Regions from separate parts of the Homo sapiens genome. Here region 1 is linked to region 2. The links are contacts of gene promoters, found by promoter capture Hi-C in blood cells and fetal thymus (Javierre and others, 2016). All regions are on one chromosome and are shown on one strand. The core of a region is centred on a gene start or on the middle of the fragment in contact, and the rest is flanking DNA. Distances in the headings are between cores, read along the strand shown. Region 1 overlaps DMXL2 (Dmx like 2). Region 2 holds the start of DMXL2 (Dmx like 2).

The links. The method cuts DNA at HindIII sites, captures the fragments that hold promoters and counts their contacts. A CHiCAGO score of 5 or more calls a contact.
Region 1: a contact is called between a fragment that was not itself captured here and the fragment with the promoter of DMXL2 in region 2, in 2 of 17 cell types (M1 macrophages and monocytes). The highest score is 5.5, in M1 macrophages.

What each region holds. Positions count from the first base shown.
Region 1 is chr15:51,572,150-51,575,537 of GRCh38, reverse strand. The region is part of intron 2 of DMXL2 (Dmx like 2); the gene reads left to right. Among named protein-coding and RNA genes, the nearest start is that of DMXL2, 49 kb to the left of the region's middle. The HindIII fragment of the contact is 3,397 bases long and covers 1-2,963 here.
Region 2 is chr15:51,620,807-51,624,483 of GRCh38, reverse strand. It overlaps DMXL2 (Dmx like 2), which reads left to right and starts at 1,713. Exons shown (of 44, transcript NM_001378457.1): 1 at 1,713-2,025. The coding sequence starts at 1,939. RefSeq lists a silencer at 1,576-1,795 and an enhancer at 2,166-2,575. The HindIII fragment of the contact is 5,213 bases long and covers 1-3,142 here.

The sequences.
Region 1 (3,388 bases), core at 16-2,515, 48 kb after region 2:
TTAAAATTTCATCATATGTACCTCTCCCCCAATTTTCAAACATAATGTACATCAAATTTTGGTGGCATGTCAAGTAAATATAGGATGTTTGCTGTATACTCCAGCAATTCAGTAAGGCCAGTATTATGTAGCCGAGTTGAATGTCTCTACGAGAATAGAGTAATAAGGTTTTTACCTGTAATCATTGTAACAGTTTAAACAATCTTAGTGTTCTAGAAATTGTTATTTATTGGGTAACAAATTTGATCAAGAGTATGTTAAATCAGAATATTCATGGTGATAAATAGTAATCATACAAATTTATACTGAATGATAAATTATGGTTACTTTATCATACCATTTATCCTGCCCTATCCTACTGCCCATATCAAGCCTTAATATTTGTGTAAATGTACCAGTACTTGACAGTTCAGTGATACATTTGACCTAGTATTGAAACACGATTTCCTGGTGTTTCCTGGTACTTGTTTCTTGCTTTTCTAATTTTTCCCCCCAGGTACTCCCCACCCTCAAGCATTGCTTACACTTAGTTTAGAAAACATGGGGAGTGTCAGATTTCTCTTTTTAATTTTTTGTTGCTCTTCTCTCTAGGCCAAGCAAGGTAGCTTAAGCCTGCCTAAAGTTGTATGATAGTTGTCAGAGGTGAATTTTAGTAAATAACTCAAGTGCTGGTGATAATCGCAATGAACACACATTCTCTGGAAGTAAAACTTTTTAAAAAAGTATATAAGACATTGGTATTCATACCATGGGAAACAGAGCAACTTGTGTTTCTACTTTTCTTGAGATGGTTTAATGTAAATAAGGCAAAATTATAATATCTTTATTGTCTTTATTGACATCTTCGTTTAGTCCTTTTATCCCCCAGTCCTTGTGGTGATAACTTTCACATTGGTGACCTTGTATTAGTCTGTTATAATCATTCATTCATTGATTGACATGTTGAATGGAATTATTCACAACACTTTTTGCGTAAGTGTCATTTGAAGTAGCTTTCTGTTGTGGATTATGATTTTTCTTGGAAAGAATGTTAGATGTTGGATAAGAGTTAAAATCACTTTTTGGTATAACAGTGCCTTAAAATCACAGGGGATATTTTTGGCAGGCCTTAAAAGAATATATACCTAATTGAGTTTTAAAGGTTAACCAGGGTGCAGAGGTGTCAGAAAGGACGGTTTTTGGTCTATTCCCTGTAGTTAATTCCATCTTACCAAGAGGAGAGTGAACTTAGAAATAGCCTTCAAGAAATTATTGGAAAACAGGCTGTGGTAGTTTCTGGGAACAGAGGGATTTATGTCTTTTCTTACCAGGTATGTGACCTGGAACAAAATCCTCCTGGTCCCTAAATTTCTTGCTTCAGTCCTCTGGAGATGTCTTCATCAGCTCTTTCCCCCAGGTGCAGTTTATGGCTCCCTGACTTCTCCTTAGCCTGTTTTTTGTATTCCTTCCTCTAGATGGTGTCCCAATTGGTATTTTCTGTTTGATGGTATAATTAGGCCATTTTATTTGAAATATTTTTAAGACCTGTTATTAGTTGATGCTTTTCTCATAGATTTTATATTATTTTCACTGGATTATAAAGTTTCTGACAAAGATGCATGCTTTTGAAATGTATTTTTTAATAGTTATTTTATATTAAAAATAAAATTCTTATGAAAAATATGATTTTTTCCCATATGTATATATATATTTTTTATTATACTTTAAGTTCTGGGGCACACGTGCAGAACGTGTAGGTTTGTTACATAGGTATACACGTGCCATGGTGGTTTGCTGCACCCATCAACCCATCATCTACATTAGGTATTTCTCCTAATGCTATCCCTCCCCTAGCCCCCCGACCCCCTGACAGGCCTCAGTGTGTGATGTTTCCCCCAGTGTCCATGTGTTCTCGTTGTTCAACTCCCACTGATGAGTGAGGACATATTGTTTGGTTTTCTGTTTGTGTGTTAGTTTGCAGAGAATAATGGTTTCCAGCTTCTTCCATGTCCCTGCAAAGGACATGAACTCATCCTTTTTTATGGCTGTGTAGTATTCCATGGTGTATATGTGCCACATTTTCTTTATCCAGTCTATCATTGATGGGCATTTGGGTTGGTTCTAAGTCTTTGCTGTTGTGAACAGTGCTACAATAAACATACATGTGCATGTGTCTTTAAAGTAGAATGATTTATAATCCTTTGGGTATATACCCAGTAATGGGATTGGTGGGTCAAATGGTATTTCTGGTTCTAGATCCTTGAGGAATTCCCACACTGTCTTACACAAATGGTTGAACTAATTTACACTCCCACCAACAGTGTAAAAGCGTTCCTATTTCTCCACATCCTCTCCAGCATCTGTTGTTTCCTGGCTTTTTAATGATCACCATTCTAACTGATGTGAGATGGTATCTCATTGGGGTTTTGATTTGCATTTCTCTAATGACCAGTGATGACGAACATTTTTTTTCATATGTTTGTTGCTTATCAGCTTAAGGAGATTTTGGGCTGAGACAATGGGGTTTTCTAAATATACAATCATGTCATCTGCAAACAGAGATAATTTGACTTCCTCTCTTCCTAATTGAATACCCTTTATTTCTTTCTCTTGCCTGATTGCCCTGGCCAGAACTTCCAGTACTGTGTTGAATAGGAGTGTTGAGAGAGGGCATCCTTGTCTTGTACTGGTTTGCAAAGGGAATGCTTCCAGTTTTTGCCCATTTAGTATGATATTGGCTGTGGGTTTGTCATAAATAGCTCTTATTATTTTGAGATACGTTCCATCATTACCTAGTTTATTGAGAGTTTTTAGCATGAAGGGCTGTTGAATTTTGTCAAAGGCCTTTTCTGCATCTATTGAGATAATCATGTGGTTTTTGTCATCGGTTCTCTTTATGTGATGGATTACATTTATTGATTTGTGTATGTTGAACCAGCTTCTTATCCCAGGGATGAAGCCGATTTGATGGTGATGGACAAGCTTTTTGATGTGCTGCTGGATTTGGTTTGCCAGTATTTTATTGAGGATTTTTGCATTGATGTTCATCAGCCATATTGGTGTAAAATTTTCTTTTTTGGTTGTGTCTCTGCCAGGCTTTGGTATCAGGATGATGCTGGCCTCATAAAATGAGTTAGGGAGGATTCCCTCTTTTTTTATTGTTTGGAATAGTTTCAGAAGGAATGGTACCAGCTCCTTTTTGTACCTCTGGTAGAATTCAGCTGTGAATCCATCTGGTCCTGGACTTTTTTTGGTTGGTAGGCTATTAATTATTGCCTCAATTTCAGAACCTCTTATTGGTCTATTCAGGGATTCAACTTCTTCCTGGTTTAGTATTGGGAGGGTGTATGTGTCCAGGAATTTATCCATTTCTTCTAGATTTTCTAGTTTATGTGTGTAGAGGTGTTTA
Region 2 (3,677 bases), core at 464-2,963:
AAACAAGAGCCAAATGTGAAATGGTTTAAATAATGTGAATTAGTAACACTCTTGGAAACCTGAGTACAATTTGTTGTTTGATGATAGTTTTGACTTGGTTTCTAATGCAGTGAAGGTCAAAGATTAAGAGACTCATCTAGAATCTAGTAGTAACAAAAAGGAACCCTTGGATATGGCGCGGGGGAAGGGAGGAAGGGGGGGGGAGGGAAGGGGAGGGAGGGGGGAGAGAGAGAAAGAGAGAGAATGCCGCAGGTCATTAGGTATTATTTTTCATTCCTCCTGCAACTTTCTACTGAAAAGATTACCAACGACTGACAGATCTTTGCCTCCAATCTTCCCCACCCTTCCCTTTATGCTTCAAAATGCTACAAAGTCATCTTCCCAAAGCAGCTCTGATTATATAAATTTTTGCTCAGAAACATCTGATATACCCCCACTGCATGCAGAGTGAAATCTGGGCTTCTTGGAGCATTCAAGACTCTCCATAATATGTTTTGGTAGGCCAAGAGTTAGACCACTTGGATACCTTGATCTCTTGCTAAGTATTATTTACTTTCCCTACCCTATAAATCATCTGCCTCAAACATTAATCTTTGTACCTTCAACACCCCCTCTATTTTCTGTACTGTATTTGCAGCATTTCTTGTCTATCTCAGCCTGTCAAAATTAAACTCAGCGTTTATGTCAGGTTATGTCTCCATAATGCCTTATCCACGCCCTTAGTCAACATTCTTCTTCCTCTTCTGTGGTGCATAAAGACTTTTATATCTCAATCACACCACCTTTGGCGTTCTGCCTGGTTTTACAGATAGTTATGTCTTGGTGTCCCCTACTTCCTTACCCTGTGATTTAAGCATAGTATGGGTTAGAACATTTGCCATGAATTGGCCTGTGGCAGGGAGCTGATGATCCTTGTTATCAACCATTCAAAGTTTAGCAGATAGTTTGGAAAATCAGGCGATTCTGCTAATTCATGAAATTACTCATGAAAAAAAGTCGAAAGGAGTCACCCGTCTCTAAGGCGGCTTTTTGCTGTCTAGAATAACCGTGACAAAAGGTGGGAGCAAAATAATTAGCTTTCAGGGGAGTATGGCTTCTCTAAATAGTTGCAAGATGCCTACATTGTTTATGTAAAATAAAATATCTTATGTACTGCACTTTCGAAAAGACTGAAGATATCTAAGATATCTCCAGGTGGAAATTCCCGGTGACGGGTGTCCTTCTGAGGTCAACGGCACTGACCATTGCACACTGTATTCTGGAATACGTTCAACACAGCAAAACCGGCTCGTGGCGCGTCCCCGGCGTCCGACTGCTGCGTGGCCCCGAGCGACCTGCACCCCACTCGCCCCCGCCCCCACCTCCGCCCCAGTCCGCAGCGGCTACAGCCCGGGAGGCTCCAAGGGAACTCCCGCACGTCTGCGCGCGCAATCACGGGACGGCGGGTCGGCGTGGCGCGCGCAATTGCCCTGGAAACCACGGCGCGCGCACGCGCAAACGCGGGTGATGGGGGGAAGAAAGACTGAGCTGAGAGCTTTGCCGCGGGGGGAGGGCTCTACCTCGCTCCCCCGCGGTGGGCGCGCGCGCTGGCCCGCTCCCTTGCTGCACGCTCCCGGCTCGCGCGTTCCCCCCGGTGCCCTCCCCCGCCTCACAAGCACCCTTGCCCTCCCGCATTTGTGCGCCGGTGCAGCAGGCAGTGGGAACATCCGGGCATTTCCGCAGCTGAGCGGCGACCCGGGCGGCGGCGGCGGTCGAGGAGCTCCCATGGCAGGGACGAGGCGGAGGGAAGGCGAAAGGGGGGCGAGGAGTTAAGCCAGAGCCTCCGCGGGGCGGGTTTCCGAGGGAGGCACAGAGGGAAACGGCTCTCGCAGCCCGAGGAGGGTCAGGCGCGGAGCTTGTCGCACCTCCCGCGCATTCTGTCCAGCCCGGGCTCCGGAGATGCATCTGCATCAGGTCCTCACCGGAGCTGTCAACCCTGGAGACAACTGCTACTCCGTGGGCAGCGTCGGGGATGTCCCCTTCACGGTGAGCGGCGGCCGGGAGCCCTAGGGGAAGATACCAGGGGCCAGACGCGGGGGCAGGGACCTCCTGTCCAGGGCGCACGCCTCCTCAGGAGGCTGTGAGATGTTGGTGGGCCCCACCCGTGGCCCCTTTGCAGCCTTGGGGTTTAGTTCCCCCTGGGACCCGTGGGACCGTGGGTCCTGCGTCTGGTGTAGGAAATCACCCGTTAGGGGAAAGGCTTAGGAATCCACCGCACTCTCCACCCCAAGCAAACGGGCCTGAGGTGACTGGACTAGAAGGCTCCTCCTAGGGCGGCCCTTCGGTCTGCGGTGGAGGAAAGTGGTGGTGCGGCTGAAACCCCAGAGCGTCCGTTTCGCAGCTGCTCTCGGCGTGGAGGCGAAGAGACTTGGTGTTGGTCTCGGAGCGTGGAGGTGAAGAGACTTGGTGTTGGTCTCGGAGCGTGGAGGCGATGCTGCGCCTTGGCTCCCCCTGCCCGCTGTGCTAGGGCAGCGAGGAGCTGCTGGAGTCTGTGGCTTTAAGCCTGACTCTGTATCTCCTGATAATGCAGGATCTTAATTCCAACAAAAAGATAGAAAAATTCATCCTCCGCGCCCGAAAGATTTAGAATGGAAAGGTTAGAGTCACAGTGGCTTGGAGAGCTGTCTCATTTATCAGGAGGTCGTAGTTTGGTAATCCTCCTAGATAATATTTTAATCTGTAAGGTAGCCTTTTTTTTAATATAGTAAGGCAATGTGAAAAATTTACAACAGTGCTTGTTTGAGAAAAGTGTATGTATACATAACGTTTTAGAATCTCCTTAAAAGCTAGATGAAGTAGACATGTTTCTCAAGGAGATTGGACTCATCAGTCCTTTTTGAGAGTGGAAATGTTTAAACCAAGCCTTGGAGCTTCGTTTACTCATAGATAGACTCCCATAAATTGAGTTCTTTTTTAAAGAATGAAATTTATACATGGTCTTCCTTATAAGGAACTGTAGGCAGCCAGACCTTTATTAAATATATTTTGTAAACTGTTCTTCTTGATAAAACTGGAAATTCCGTAATGGTATGCTTTTTAGACAAGGAAAACCCTTTGATGTCTGCTTTCCAACAGTGTTTTTAAAACTGCGGAAAATAAAGCTTCAGCAAAACTGCAGAATCATTATGTAGCAGTGCATTCTGGAACAGAATTTATTTTTTGACGTTTTGTGATACATTAACCCCAGAAGATTGCTTTTTAGCCATTTTAATTTTTTAGTGTAATCCACTTGGCCTAGCTCCAGTTTAGAACGACCCCTTTTGTCATCTGTGTTTTATGTACATGTGACTTAAAATATTCATATAGAGCTGAGCTTTGTCTTCAAGTGTGTGGAGAATCTTGGTTTTTGGGGATAGAGAGAAGAAATTTCCCTGTTCCCCAGTAGTGCAGATAGGAAGTTCCTCAGGGTTAGAAGAGTGGGCCTCTTTCATCAAGAAACAAAGCTGGAATCTTTGGTTATATTTTCCTGCTAGAATGGTGGTGGTAGTTTTCTGCTTCCATCTAAAGTGGAGTGCTGTCTCACGGCAGGTCTGGTATGTAGAACTAAATAAACGGGTTCAGATGCAGCCTGGAAAAGCCTGTGTAAGAACTGTTAGTGCTGTGCAGGTGTGGTTATGCTGTAGGCCACTTGTGACCAG